Regions from separate parts of the Homo sapiens genome. Here region 2 is linked to region 1. Evidence: promoter capture Hi-C in human tissues and cell types (Jung and others, 2019). All regions are on one chromosome and are shown on one strand. The core of a region is centred on a gene start or on the middle of the fragment in contact, and the rest is flanking DNA. Distances in the headings are between cores, read along the strand shown. Region 1 holds the start of XKR8 (XK related 8). Region 2 overlaps PTAFR (platelet activating factor receptor).

Region 1 (7,680 bases), core at 2,886-5,385:
GCTTTCGGATGCTCTATGATGATGCAGGTATTCAACCTGGAGGGCAACTGCCAGCTCCCTCCCTCCTTCTCTCCCCAGACCCGCTCAGTCCTGCTGTCTCTCTCCTGACAGGTGTCCCCATAAGCGCCATGTTCATCACACCTGGAGTCACCCCATGGAAAACCACATTACCTGGAGTGGTCAATGGGGCCAACAATCCAGCCATCCGGGTGTTCGAATATGACCGAGCCACACTGAGCCTGAAGGTCAGGAGTCCTGCGGAGGCCAGAGGAGGAGGGTGGGAGGGGCTTAAATGCATCACCACCTTCCCTCACTCTCAGCTTATCCACCTTCCCCTGACCACTGAGCCTCAGGAAGGTTGAGCTCCTTCCACCCTTCTCCAGCTCAGGATCAGAACCCTGGAGGCACCTGCCACCGAGTCAGGGCAGTGCCTCACCAAGTCACCTTTTCCCCTGGATGACTGTCACAGCTTCATACCTGGTCTCCCTGCCTCTGGCCCTGCCCTGCTATGGCCCATCCGCTACACAAGAGAGAAGAAACTAATCTCCTATAGCACCACTTTCATCTTGTCTCCGTCCTGCTCAAAAACCTTCAGTGGCTCCCCAGTGCCTTCAAGATAAAGTTGTGTCTCCTTGACCTAGTACTCAAGGCTTCCCACAGTCTGACTTCAAGCCCATTGTCCACATTTTCCGTACACAGACGAGGCTCCAGCCCCTAATTCTTTGGGCAGTCCCTCACCTCGTAGGATGAGCTTGTGGTTGTTGAGATGAAAAATATTATTCCTTTATTTATCCAACAAAATGCATTAAGTGTGTGCCATTGGCCAGGCCCTGTTCTAATCTCAGAAGATATGTAAATTTAAAAACAAAGTCACCCCTCTCCTGGACCTGACATCTTACAGGAGAGGGACAATAAATATGTAGAATTAATTATAGTACTGAGAGAAGGGCTAAGGAGAAAATCAAAACAGTGAGGCGACAGGGTGACAGCTATGGGAGGTGTGTACTGTGTTAGATAGGTGGGAAGGGGAAGTGTCCACATAAGGTGCCATTTGAGTTCTGAGTGTATTGAGGGAGGGAGCCCAGTGGGTATCTTGGGGAGGTGGAGGGAACAGCAAGTCAAAGGCCCCGGGGTGGGAATGTGCGTGGTAGGTTAGGGGAAGAGCACGGAGGCCATGTGGCCACAGTAAGAGGCACAAGGGGAGAGTGGGAGGGGAGGTCCGATCTTGCAGGCCTCCATGAGGACTCTGGATTTGGAGGGTTTTGCGCAGAAGAATGAAATCCTGTGACTTATAATTTTATGGAATCATCATGTCTGCTGTGCAGGGAACAGGCTGTAGGGGCAGGTGGGGGAGCAGTGAGGCCGTTTGGAGGGAAGGACAAATCCCAGATGACAGGATAGTAGCTTGCCCAGGGTGGAGGCAGTGAGATGGTGAAAAGTGCCAGGTCCCAGATGAATTCTGGATGCAGGATTTGCTAGAGTGGATATGAGCTGTGAGAAAAAGGGACGAATCCAGGAGGCTTCCAAGGCTCTTGGCCTGTGCAACGGTAGGCTGTGGCTGCCGATTACTGAGATAAGTGGCAGGGTGATCAGGCTTCGGAGGGTCAGTCAGAGGTCTTGTTTTGGACCTGTTACCTTTGGGAGGGCTAAATGGCATCAAGTGAAAGTGGACAGGGAAGGGGCAAGTTGGAGCTTGAAGAGGTGAGGATAGAGATGTGATCTGGGAGTGGAGAGAGGACATTTAAAGCCAACGACTGCATGAGCTAACCCAGGTCCTTGATTCTAGTAAAGGTAGATTAAGAAGAGGTCTGAGGGGTTTAAAGAGTGGCCTGTTGTCCACATGGGCACTCCAAGGGTCTGAGCAAGGGGAATGGCAGGCTGCACCATCACCCCCTAACAGGCCCTCCATTCTCCTCAGGGAGGGAGTCAGCCCTGAGCTTGAATCCTGGCTCCACCACTCATAAGCTTTTTGATCTTTTGACCTCTGTGCCTCACTTGCTTCATCTGTAAAATGGGAGTAACAGAACCTCGCAGGGTTTGAGGAGGACTACATGAAATAATGGAATGTTCCTGGCACAGAGTGGCCATGCATACGGGCAGCTCCTCTTACCCCGTCTGCAGTGGCCTGAAGCAGGTTCATAAATGTACCTGGAACCCGCTGGACTGATGAACCCTGCAGAGTCTAGCCGTGAACATGCACCTGGGTCCTAGGAGTCTACAGTTCATAATCTCTCTCATGCTTAGTGTTGCTCTTTTTATGTTGCTTTTATCTATTCATTATGTAAATATTTACTGAGCGTCTTCTATGTGTACCCTAGCATGGTGGGACCTGGGGTAAACCTGGGGTCCAATCCTGCTACCACTGAATACCTGTATGAATACCTGTATGACCCTGGCCAAGTGAATTAACCTCTTTAGGCCTCAGTTTCCTCATTTGTGAAACCTAGGTAATAAGCGCAGTTACCTCATTCGATTCAGAGGATGTCTGCCAAGCACAATGGGTGCACAGCTAAGTGCTCAATAACTACTAGTGGTCATGGTCACTGCTCTAAAGAACTTGGGGGCAAATGCAAGGTGCAGGATGGGGATGGAAGCAGACAACTGCTCACAGCCGGTCTACCCCAAACCCTTTTTCCAGGACATGGTGACCTACTTCATGAACCTGAGCCAGGCGAATGCTCAGGGGACGCCGCGCTGGGAGCTCGAGTACCAGCTGACCGAGGCCTATGGGGTGCCGGACGCCAGCGCCCACTCCATGCACACAGTGCTGGACCGCATCGCTGGCGACCAGAGCACACTGCAGCGCTACTACGTCTATAACTCAGTCAGCTACTCTGCTGGGGTCTGCGACGAGGCCTGCAGCATGCAGCACGTGTGTGCCATGCGCCAGGTGGACATTGACGCTTACACCACCTGTCTGTATGCCTCTGGCACCACGCCCGTGCCCCAGCTCCCGCTGCTGCTGATGGCCCTGCTGGGCCTGTGCACGCTCGTGCTGTGACCTGCCAGGCTCACCTTCTTCCTGGTAACGGGTAACGGGGGCAGCGCCCAGGATCACCCAGAGCTGGGCCTTCCACCATTTCCTCCGCGCCTGAGGAGTGAACTGAAATAGGACAACCGAATCAGGAAGCGAAGCCCCAGGAGCTGCAGCCATCCGTGATCGCGCCACTGCACTCCAGCCTGGGTGACAAAGCCAGACTCTCTCCAAAAACAAACCAGAAACAGAAAAGAAATGACGACCCAAGACCCCCCTACAAGCATACTTCTTTTGCGTATTATGTTTAACTCACAAAACAAAGCTCATCATGCGTTTGATTCTGTGTTGTGTTCCTTTTCTTTTCTTTTGAGACGGAGTCTCGCTCTGTCGCCCAGGCCGGAGTGCAGTGGCGCTATCTCGGCTCTCTGCAACCTCTGCCTCCCGGGTTCAAGCGATTCTCCTGCCTCAGCCTCCTAGCTGGGACTACAGGCGCGCGCCAACACGCCCGACTAATTTGTATTTTTAGTAGAGACGGGGTTTCGCCATGTTTGCCAGGCTGGTCTCGAACTCCTGACCTCAGGTGATCCGCCCGCCTGGGCCTCCCAAAGTGTTGGGATTACAGGCGTGAGTCACCGCGCCCGGCCTCTATTCCCTTCCGTATGGAAATGAGGTTAACTCATTTGCAGGAACCTAACGCCCGCCCTCCCCCGACTCGGATCGCTGGCGTGAACCCAGCGGCCCCGTGCTCTCCGGGTATCCCTGGATCGAGGCGCACGCGTTGTTGCAAAGTCTCGCACTTAGGGATTAGAATGTGCCTTTGCGTTTCGTTTTGTTTTGCAACAATACAGGTGTGAGGGATCGCAGCCCTGGTCCAGGCTCTAGTCTCCCCGCCCTCTCGCTTTCTTGGGCCTCCGGGCGCCTCAAAGGTAAAACTAGGCCATTTGAAGCCTGCGAAGCGAAGGGCAGTCGGTCTTCAGGCCTAGCGGGCTTGGCTGGGCTGGGTCGGTGGACCCCTGGGCTGGCGGCGGGAGCAGAGCATCGAGCGGCTTTTAGCTGGGGTTCGGGCGGAGGACCTGGGACAACCGCGGGCCTCGCTCCTCCCCGGACGGGGCGGGACGGGGAAGTCCCGCCCACCAGGCCCAGGCCCCGGGCCGCCCCGAGGGCTGCGCCCACCTCCTTCCTGCCTCGGCAACCCCGGGCCCTGAGGGCAGGCCCCAACCGCGGAGGAGCAGGAGAGGGCGGAGGCCGGCGGGCCATGCCCTGGTCGTCCCGCGGCGCCCTCCTTCGGGACCTGGTCCTGGGCGTGCTGGGCACCGCCGCCTTCCTGCTCGACCTGGGCACCGACCTGTGGGCCGCCGTCCAGTATGCGCTCGGCGGCCGCTACCTGTGGGCGGCGCTGGTGCTGGCGCTGCTGGGCCTGGCCTCCGTGGCGCTGCAGCTCTTCAGCTGGCTCTGGCTGCGCGCTGACCCTGCCGGCCTGCACGGGTCGCAGCCCCCGCGCCGCTGCCTGGCGCTGCTGCATCTCCTGCAGCTGGGTTACCTGTACAGGTGAGTGCTTCGCCCCGGGAGGGGAGGAGTGTCGGAGCCCAGCACCTCCGTCAGCTGGGTCACCTGTACAGGTGACACGCCATATGCCGGGAAGGGGACTGGGAGAGGGAACCAAGTCCTGTGGGCGCCTGGCCTACAGGTGAGCGTGCAGCCCTTTACGGAAAGGGAATCCCGGTAGACTGCCTTCATTCTAGCCCTAGCTTTCCTGGCACAGGCGAAGAAACTGAGGCCCAGGGAAGAAAGGGAGGCGCATGGGCTTTGAAGTCGGACCTCTCAGGGATCCACTTCTGGCTTTGCCCCCTCTCGCCTCACTTCTGCATTTCTCTGAGCCTCAGTTTCCTCCTGCGTAGAAAGGAGGTAGTCACCCTGAGACAGGTGTGACGGGCAGGCCTGTTGTGAAGAGTGAGCGAAAGAATGAGAAAGTGCCTCGCACAGTGCCTGGCCTGTAATGGCAGGGGCTGCGGACTCAGTTCAGCATCCCATGTTTCAGCATGGGCAGGGCCTTGGGAAGTCACTGACCTCTCAGTGGGGCTGTTTGGTTGCTGTTCCCATTGGGATGGGGATAGCGCCTGCCCGTTTGGTGAAGATGCAGTGAAATGACATCTGTCCACTGCCCTGGCTCAGAGTGAGCACTCAGCAACCTCAGCTGGCTTCTTGACCTGGGCCTCCCTGGGAGTTTCAGCAGCCCTGACCCCACCACAGCGCTTGCCCCTCACAAAGGCCGCCTCTCACCCTGTCTGCCTGGTTGTATTCTTCCCCCTGAAACTTGGCTTCCCACCCCAGACCCAGCAAGAGGGCAGAGATGGCCTCTGACTCATCCATGCCCATGGAGCCAGCCAGGGCTGGGCATAGGCTGGGTCCTGGAAAATGTGTGTGGATTCTGCTCCTTTTTGGACCTGGTGGAGCCTCGTAGAGATGGGAAAACAAACCCAAGGCTCAGAGGCATGCGACAAAGTCAGGGCAGAGGGTGGTGTGGGTTGGGATGGGGTGGCCAGGGCCAGGATCTGCTCTTGAATCCGTTTTTACAAACTCTTGAGATCTGGCCTTGACAAAGCCACACGGAGTCTCCAGGAGTGGAAGAGAGGAGCTTTGAATGTGGCAGTTTTGCCTGAGGGATTATAGAGACATCAGAAAACCCCGGGTGGGCATGAAGGGGTGCAGTTGTTAAGTCCTGGGCAGGCCTCCATGAGCCGTGAATCTGTAACTACCTTATGCATCTTTGTGGCCAATATTTCTGCTGAGCTTGAGTCAGACAGACTGTACTAGCTTTGGCTTTGGAAATGGGTCTCTGTTCCTGCCTGTGAATTGGCCGAGGCAGGGGTCCCTGCTAGGTCACTGGGGACCATAGGCAAAGGCTCCTGCTGAGGGAGAACCCCAGCCTGTCCTGCCTGCCTGCTCCTCAGTGTGTTCTTGTGTCCTTCCAGGGGAAGTGACAGTACATGTCTGGTGAATGAGCTTGTGATGAGTGAACGGGGTTCTCTCCCAATAGGCAACTGAGAGCAAAGTTCTGGGTGGAGGGTCCTTGGTGCATCCTCCACTTACTCTTCATGCCAGTGGGTACCCCAGACCTGTCTGTCCAAACTCTGGACTCTCTTAACTCCGCCCCAATCTCCATCCTTAACCACTCAGGGCCAGCCTCTTAAATGGGATCCCTCCTTCCAATCTAACCCTCCTCCAGCCCCTCCCCTGTGTGGCCGGGGCAAGGCAGAGTCTGATTCCATCTGGCCTGTGCCCAGAAGTGCCCAAGAGGCAAATGTCCTCTTGCCCACAGGACCCCAGGAGATCTTGGGCACACTAAAGTTTGAGAACTACTGCCTCAGGCAACTTTATAGCATGCCTTTCCAATTCAGGTTTGGATCCAAATCCTCATTCCAGTACTTATTAGCTGCTTATAATTTTTTGTTTGTTTTTTAAAAAGAGGTAGGGTCTGGTCAGGCTTGGTGGCTCATGCCTGTAATCCTAGCAGTCTGGGAGGCTGACGTGGGTGGATCACTTGAGGTCAGGAGTTTGAGACCAGCCTGCTGAACATGGCAAAAGCTCATCTCTACAAAAATTAGCCAGGTGTGGTGGCGCATGCCTGTAATCCCAGCATCCCAGCTACTCTGGAGGCCGAGGCAGGAGAATCGCTTGAACCTGGGAGGTGGAGGTTGCAGTGAGCCGAGTTTGTGCCACTGCACTCTAGCCTGGGCGACAAGCGACAGATGTAGACTCTGTCTCCAAAAAAAAAGAAAAAAAAAAAGAGAGAGAGAGGCAGGGTCTCTGTTGCCTGGGCTGGAGTGCAGTGGCACAATCAATCATGGCTCACAGTGGCCTTGAACTCCTGGGCTCAAGCTGTCCTCCTGCGTCAGCCTCCTGAGTAGCTTGGACTACAGGCTTGTACCACCACGTCCAACTAATTAAAAAAAATTCTTTGTAGAGATGGGGCTTGCTGTGTTGCCCAGGGTGGTCTCAAACTCCTGGCCTCCAGTGATCCTCTTGCCTTGGCCTGTCAAAATGTTGGGATTACAGGCGCGAGCCACTGCACCCAGACCTTATTAGCTTCTTGATCCTGTTTCCCCATCTGTAAAATGGGCTTTTGTGAGAAGTAAACAGGACAAGGTTTGTGATGAGCTTGGGACAGTGCTTAGCCAGCGGGAGTAGAAGGTGTATTGATCCCCATTTTTGCTTTTTTGTTTTTTTTGAGACGGAGTCTTGTTCTGTCGCCAGGCTGGAGTGCAGTGGCACGATCTCGGCTCACTGTAACCTCCGCCTTGCAGATTCAAGAGATTCTCCTGCCTCAGCCTCCTGAGTAGCTGGGACTACAGGCGCGCACCACCACACCCAGCTAATTTTTTGTATTAGTAGAGACGAGGCTTCACCATGTTAGCCAGGATGGTCTCAATCTCCTGAACTCGTGATCAGCCCGCCTCAGACTCCCAAAGTGCTGGGATTACAGGCATGAGCCACCACACCCGGCCTCGATCCTCATTTTACAGATGAAACAAGTTCAGTGAGGTTAGGACATTGCCGAAGGCCCCATAGCATGGATGTGAGGAGACAGGTTGGAGCCTGTGTCCACTCATTAGATGGGTGGGAGGCTGAGGAATTCACAGGACACTAACCTGGCCCTCTGGGCATTTGTGTGTGGTGCCTAGGTGCGTGCAGGAGCTGCGGCA
Region 2 (7,830 bases), core at 1,378-3,877, 200 kb after region 1:
CTCAAACCCGTTGGTGCCACCAGTACCCGTCATCCTGGCTCTTCCTACTTCTGCTGCCTTCTGTTCAATCCCAGGCTCCTGGCCCCCATGTGACTCCCACTCCCTTGGCCCCAACCCAAACTTGGTGCCTATCACTGTATCTTTGCATGAGTAGAACCCTTGAAATCACCCAAAATGTAACCAGCTGATTCTCCTCTGGGCCTGAGAGCTTGCACTTTCATTACTTTATTCATGCTGTTTCCTCTGCCAAGAAATCCTCCCTTCCTTGTCATTGTCTGGATGTTTACTAGAACATTCTTTAAGATTGCTCAGACCTCATTTCCTCCAAGTAGCTCTTTCTAAGACTCCTGGCCTCCTGCACACCCAGCTCCACCCGCGGTCTGGTTAAGTGCCCATTCTTTGGACTTCCGTAGCTCATAGCTCTTTATCCCACTGAAATTGCCTCTATGTGACCTCTCTGCCAACCAGAGGCAGAGACAATGTCCATGCATTCACCTCACAGTTATTGACATCCTTCTGGGTGTTGGGCACTATGTTGGGGAGACTGCAGAAACAAAACAAAGTTCCTGCTCTCGAGGAGCTTACATTCTAGTTGGGGGAAACAGTCAAAAATAAGTGGAGCAACAAATAAGATAATTTCAAATTGTGATGAATTTAATGAAGGAAATAAAAATAGTAACATGAAGATAGGGTAGATGGCTTTTTTTTTATTTTTATTTTTTAATAAATAGAGACAAGGTCTCACTATGTTGCCCAGGTTGGTCTTGAACTCCTGAGCTCAAGTGATCTGCCTGATTTAGTCTCCCAAAGTGCTAGGATTACAGGCATGAGCCACTGCACCCAGCTGGTGGCTGTTTTAAGTAGAATGACCAGGAAAGGCTTCTTGGAGGAGGTGACATACAAACAAAACCACAGACAGCTTTACCATGAAGTCAATGAAGCTTAAGCTTTAAGGCCCTCTCCTAGGCCCTGTATCTAATTGTATATTTGTAATTTGGTATCTTCAAAGGGGGGCCCTTCAAATTGTATAAGCTTTAGTAACCTATAAAATCTGTGTCTACCCCTGGCTGAACTCTAAAAAAGAAAAAAGGAACAAGTAAGAGGACGATCTGGATTATTCCAGCCAGAGAGTATCATGTGCAAAGGGCCTGTAATGGGAATAATTTCATCATGTTCTGAAGTAGGAACAAGAAACTGAAAGGTTGGTGTGGCCCTAGGGGAGTGAGAAATGGGAAGAGTGGGATGTGATCAGAGGACACCTGGCTGCAGATCACTCCTGAGCCATGGTAAGGAGTTGGGATTTTATTCTGTGAGCCTCGGAGAGCTGCTTCAGTGTCGCTAAGCAGGCAAGTAACATGATCGGACTCGCTCTAGCTGTCAGGTAGAGAATAGATGGTAGGGAGCAAGCGTGGAAACAGCAAGAGCATTTTGGAGGTCAGAGATGGTGGTGGCATGGACCAGAAAGTGGCATTTTCAATTCCTCTCCCCGTCCCCTGTACTCAGGGAGCTTGGCTGGGGCAAAAGTTTGGTAAACATTTGTCAGGTGAACAAACACCCAGCAACCGACAGGATTGCCTACTCCCCAGACAGAGCAGCTGCCACACAAGGCAGAGTGAGCCCTCTACAAACTCAGGACTCAAACTGTGGTCCTTGGACGAGCAGCATTGGCACCACCTGCAAGCTTGTTAGAAATGCAGAATCTTGGGTCCCACCCCAGATCTCCTGTATCAGAATCTGTATGTTGGCCGGGCATGGTGGCTCACGCCTGTCATCCCAGCAGTTTGGGAGGCTGAGGCAGGTGGATCACTTGAGGTCAGGAGTTCGAGACCAGCCTGACCAACATAATGAAACCCCCTCTCTAATAAAACTACAAAAATTAGCCAGGCATGGTGGTGGGTGCCTGTAATCCCAGCTACTCTGGAGGCTGAGGCAGGAGAATAATTGCTTGAACCCAGGAGACAGAGGTTGCAGTGAGCCAAGATCACACCACTGCACTCCAGCCTGGGCGACAGAGCGAGACTTTGTCTCCAAAAAAAAAAAAAAAAAAAAAAAGACTCCATATGTTAATAAGATTCCCAGGCGATTCGTGCACGCACCGAAATCTGAGACATGTTGTACCCCAACAACTGCCAGCCACACACTTGCCTGGGCTAACATCTTCCGTGGCTCCCCTGGCCCAGGATCAAGTCTAAGCTCCTTTCCCATCTTATTTTCCACCATTCCCCGCTACTCATTTTCTACTCTTGCTGCACTGAATTTCTCGCTGCTTCCCTAAAAACTCCATTTTTCCTCAAATCTCTTTGCCTTTCCAGCAGCCTGCTTTTGCCTATTGCTTTACCTAGAAAAATCTTACTCATCTTAAGACCTAATCTGAAAAAGCACTTCCTCTGGGATGCCTTCCCTGATCGCCACAGGCAAAATGAGTTGCCTTCTTCTCTGGGTCCCTATGCACTGGGCGCATTCCTCAGTCTAGCACCTGATACAGTATGTTTTAAGTATTAATTTCTGTGGCTGTTTCCTTGTCAGACTGGGCACTTCCTGAGGGCAGGGACTAGATCTTTTTCATCTCTTCAATCCCAGTGTCGGGCACCGAGGAATGAATGGATGAGTGGCCATGCCCTGATGATGGCTCCGAAATCCCCGGCACAAAGGAAGTGTGCACAGTCTCCCCAGGGGAGCTGTACTGGGGTGGAGTGGGTTAGGGAGAACAAGGTCTCTGGAGTCAGAAAGGTCTACAGGTTCATACCTGGCTTACCATTTACTTGCTGTATGACCTGGGGCAAGTGACCTCGCCTCTCTAACCTTCAATGTCTTCATTTGCAAAATCTTACAATCCTAACAATGGTTTCAAAGATAAGTATGCAAAGTGGCTGGAACAGGACCTGAGCCACAAATGACCAAGCCTCCCTCTCCCCACTGGCCCAGCTGCTTGGAGCCAGGGGAGGGGACTGTGGGCCAACATTGACCTAGGGGCTTTGACCTACACACTGGCTTTCCTGCCAGCTCCAGATAGAGCCTCCAGCTAATGGCAACAAAGCTTTCAACAGCTCAGGAAGAGGATGAACATTTGGAAAGAAAAGAAGAGGCTCAGACCACTCAGTTTAACACATGGGCACAGTTCCCTGATGGATCGAGGCTGGGCAGCTGGCCCAGGCACAGCCTTCAGCTGGGGGTGGGGTAGAGAGGCCATAAATATTCATGAGACAGAAGAATTCTGCTGTCTGGATCTGGTACCCTTTTCCCTGTGCAGCATTCGGCCCTCATCCCTGCTGGAAACATTCCCAGTCCCTAGGGAACCTGGAGAAGGGGTTCTCATCCATAGCTGGACAGCCAGAGAGGAGGGACCATCGGGAGATGGACAGAAGGAGGTATGTGCTGGTTGATTTCCCAGGCCAGATTGTGGGTTGGGAAGTTGGGTTCACCAGTCCTGCTAGCTCTTAACATTTGTGGGGCCAGTTGAGGTCAAAAGTACAAAATTCTAAATATTTATAAGCTATAAATAAGATACATCCAAGTTCATCCACAGCTCCTGCACCAGCAGTTCCTTGCAGCCCCGCAGGCCTGAGGGTGCATTCACCAACAGGGCAAGGACTAGAAGTGGTGAAGGCGGGGGAACACCACATTCCAAGTGGGCACACTCTCTTGGATCCAAGTACTCCTTGCTCTGTGGGGATCATGAGGCTGGAGCCCCCCTAATTTCAAGACACTGGGCACCATTTACTGGTATACAGTACATCTTGCCTATGATCATATTTCCTCCTCAGATCATCTTCGTGAGGCTGGTTTTACAAGATACCTAATTTTCTAGGGGTAAAAAGTGAGACTAGAGAAGAAAATAGATTTGTCCATAGTCACACAGCGGGGAAGTGGCAGACTTGGGATTTTGAACTCCAAGGTTCATTCTGACTCTCCTAGAACAAGCTGTGTCCCCTGCTAGAAGCAAACTGCTCCTTGGCCAGCTTGTCCACTCACAGACCTGTCTTACAGCCTGAGAATGGGAGCTCCAGATGCTGTGAGGCCCCAGGAAGAGATGCCTTTGACCTGGGGCCCTGCTTTTACCTTTGTTCCTCAAAGCTGGGAAGGGAATGCGACAAAGGGATGGCATGACCTGCTCTGTATCCATCTGACTCCCGCCTGGTAGGGCGAGAGCTGGGTCAGATCCTGGTTCAACCACTAAGCTCATCCTGTGATTCTGAGTCTCTGTTTCCTCATTTGTAAATGAAGATTTTTATATGGACTAAGAGAAAAGGATATTAAGAAAACAATCTTATTTACAACAGTATTCAAAAAAAATAACATACTTAGAAATAAACTTAACCAGCCAGGCACGATGGCTCATGCCTATAATAATCCCAGCACTCCGGGAGGCTGAGGCAGGCAGATCACTTGAGTTCAGGAGTTTGAGACCAGCCTGGCTAACATGGTGAAACCCCATCTCTACTAAAAATACAAAAATTAGCTGGGCGTGGTGGCGCATGCCTGTAGTCCCAGCTACTCAGGAGGCTGAGCCAGGAGAATCACTTGAACCGGGAGGCGGAGGCTGCAGTGAGCCAAGATCATGCCACTGCACTCCAGCCTGGGCGACAGAGCAAGACTCTGTCTCAAAAAAAAAAAAAAAAAAAAAAGGAAAAAAAAAAAAGAAACAAACTTAACCAAGGAGGCAAAAGACTTGTACATTGAAAACTACAAAACATTGCTGAAGGTCAGGCGCGGTGCCTCACGCCTGTAATCCCAGCACTTTGAGAGGCCGAGACAGGCGGATCACGAGGTCAGGAGATCGAGACCATCCTGGCTAACACAGTGAAACCCCGTCTCTACTAAAAATACAAAAAATTAGCCAGGCGTGGTGGCAGGCGCCTGTAGTCCCAGCTACTCGGGAGGCTGAGGCAGGAGAATGGCATGAACCCAGGAGGCGGAGCTTACAGTGAGCCGAGATCGTGCCACTGCACTCCAGCCTGGGTGACAGAGCGAGACTCTGTCTAGGAAAAAAAAAAATTGCTGAAAGAAATTGAAGATGACACAAATAAATGGAAAGACATCCCAAGTTCATGGATTGGAAGACTTAATATTATTAAAATGTCCATACCACCCAAAGTGATCTACAGGTTCAATGCCATTCTACCAAAATCCCAGTGTAATTTTTACAGAAATTTTTTAAAAATTGTAAAATTCATATGAAACCTCAAAGGACAACAAATAGTCAAAACAATCTTGAGAAAGAAGAACAAAACTGAAAGACAACTCCTGATTTCAAAACATATTACAAAGCTACAATAATCAAAATGGTTTGGACTGGCATAAAGACAGACACATAGATCAATGGGACAGAATAGAGAGACCCAAAATAAACCCTCACATACATAGTCAAATAATCTTTGACAAGAGGACCATGATTACACAATGGGGAAAGAATAGTCCCTTCAACGAAAAGTGCTGGGAAAGATGGATATCCACATGCAGAAGAATGAAGATGGGCTCTTATCTTACACCATATATTATACAAAAATTAACTTAAAATGGATTAAAGACCTAAACATAAGACCTGAAACTATAAAACTCCTCAAAGAAAACATAGGATAAAAGCTTCTTGGCGGGGTGTGGTGGTTCACGCCTGTAATCCCAGCACTTTGTGGGGCTAAGGTGGGCAGATCACCTGAGGTCAGGAGTTGAAGACCAGCCTGGCCAACATGGTGAAATCCCGTCTCTACAAAAATACAAAAAGTAGCCAGGCATGATGGCGGGTGCCTGTAATCCCAGCTACTCGGGAGGCTGAGGCACGAGAATCACTTGGACCAGGGAGGCGGAGGTTGCAGTGAGCCAAGATCGTGCCATTGCACTCCAGCCTGGGAAACAGAGCAAGACTCCATCTCAAAAAAAAAAAAAGCTTCACAACAGGCCAGATACAGTGGCTCATGCCTGTAATCCCAGAACTTTGAGAGGCCTAGGTAGGAGGATTGCTTGAAGCCAGGAGTTTGGGATCAGCCTGGGCAACGTAGCAAGATCTTGTTTCTACACAAAATTTAAAAAATTAGCTGAGCACGATGGCATGCACCTGTAGTCTCAGCTATTCAGAGGCTGAGACAGGAGGATACCTTGAGCCCAGGAGCTCAAGGCTGAAGTGAGCTATGATCATGCCACTGTACTCCAGCCTAGGCAACAGAGGGAGACTCTGTCTCTAAACAACAAAAAAATTAATTAATTAGTTATTTACATTAAAAACAATAAAAAGCCTCATGACATTGGAATGGGTCATAATTTCCTGGATATGACACCAAAAGCACAGGCAACGAAAGCACAAATAAACTATTTTTTGGCAAACTTTAAATAATCTCCATGAAGCAAAGGAAAACAATCAGCAGAGTGGAAAGGCAACCTGTGGATGGGAGAAAAGGCAACCTTTCGGATGGAACCAGATATCAGATAAGGGGTTAATATGCAGAACTCCTACAACTCAGTAACAACAATAACAAAAAATTCAATTTAAAAAATGGGCAAAGAACCTGAATAGACATTTCTCCAAAGACGATATACCAATGACCATAAACATGTGAAAAGATGGCTCAATATCACTGATCATCAGAGAAATGCAAATTGAAACCATAATGCAATATCACCTCAAACCCACTGGAATGGCCACTATCAGTAAAACAGAAATGTGTCAGCAAGGATGTGAGAAATTGGAACTTTCGCATAGTGTTCGTGGGATTCCAAAACGGTGCAGCCACTATGGAAAAGAGTATAGAAGCTCCTCAAAAAACTAAAATTAGAATGATTATATGACCCAACAGTTCCGCTCTGGGTATACTATATATTCAAAAGAACTGAAAACGGGATTTTTTTTTTTTTTTTTTTTTTTTTTTTTTGAGATGGAGCCTTACTCTGTCGCCCAGGCTGGAGTGCAGTGGCACGATCTTGGTTCACTGCAACCTCCGCCTCCCGCGTTCAAGCGGTTCTCAGCCTCCCTAGTAGCTGGGACTACAGGCACCCGCCACCTCGCCCGGCTAATTTTTGTACGTTTAGTAGAGACGAGGTTTCGCCATGTTGGCCAAGCTGGTCTCTAACGCCTGACCTCAAGTGATCCGCCCACCTTGGCCTCTCAAAGTGCTGGGATTACAGGGATGAACCACCACGCCCAACTGAAAACCAGATCTTTTTTTTTTTTTTTTTTTTTTTTTTGAGATGGAGTCTCGCTCTGTAGCGCAGGCTGGAGTGCAGTGGCGCAATCTCGGCTCGCTGCAAGCTCCGCCTCCCGGGTTCACGCCATTCTCCCGCCTCAGTCTCCCGAGTAGCTGGGACTACAGGTGCCCGCCACCACACCCGGCTAATTTTTTTTTTTTTTTTTTTGTATTTTTAGTAGAGAAGGGGTTTCACCGTGTTAGCCAGGATGGTCTCAATCTGCTGACCTCGTGATCCGCCCTCCTCGGCCACCCAAAGTGCTGGGATTACAGGCGTGAGCCACCGCGCCCGGCAGAAAACAGGATCTTGAAAAGACATTTGCACATTCATATTCATAGCAACATTATTCACAATCATCAAGCGTGGAAACACCTAACATGTCCATGGACAGATGAATGGATAAGCAAAATGTGGTATATACATACAATGGAATATTACTCAGCCTTACAAAGGAAGAAAATTCTGACACATGTTACAACATGGATGAATCTTGAAGACATTTCTGCTAAGTGAAATAAGCCAGCTCACAGGAAGACAAATACTATATGATTCCACTTATTATATGAGACATTTAAAGTAATCAAACGCATAGAACCAAAAGTAGAACGGTGGTTGCCAGGGGCTGGGAGGAGGGGAAAATAGAGAGATGTTCAA

Evidence for each region. Contacts are between HindIII fragments. The study calls those that stand out against the background at their distance.
Region 2: a fragment that was not itself captured here is called in contact with the fragment with the promoter of XKR8 in region 1 in 1 of the 25 tissues and cell types used here (mesenchymal stem cells).

What each region holds. Positions count from the first base shown.
Region 1 is chr1:27,955,838-27,963,517 of GRCh38, forward strand. XKR8 (XK related 8) reads left to right here and starts at 4,136. Exons shown (of 3, transcript NM_018053.4): 1 at 4,136-4,525; 2 at 7,660-7,680. The coding sequence starts at 4,233. It overlaps SMPDL3B (sphingomyelin phosphodiesterase acid like 3B), which reads left to right. Exons shown (of 8, transcript NM_014474.4): 6 at 1-27; 7 at 112-245; 8 at 2,639-3,315. The coding sequence ends at 3,001. RefSeq lists a silencer at 4,007-4,396 and an enhancer at 4,077-4,640. The HindIII fragment of the contact is 22,893 bases long and covers 767-7,680 here.
Region 2 is chr1:28,160,801-28,168,630 of GRCh38, forward strand. All of the region lies in intron 1 of PTAFR (platelet activating factor receptor), which reads right to left. Among named protein-coding and RNA genes, the nearest start is that of PTAFR, 12 kb to the right of the region's middle. The HindIII fragment of the contact is 3,366 bases long and covers 945-4,310 here.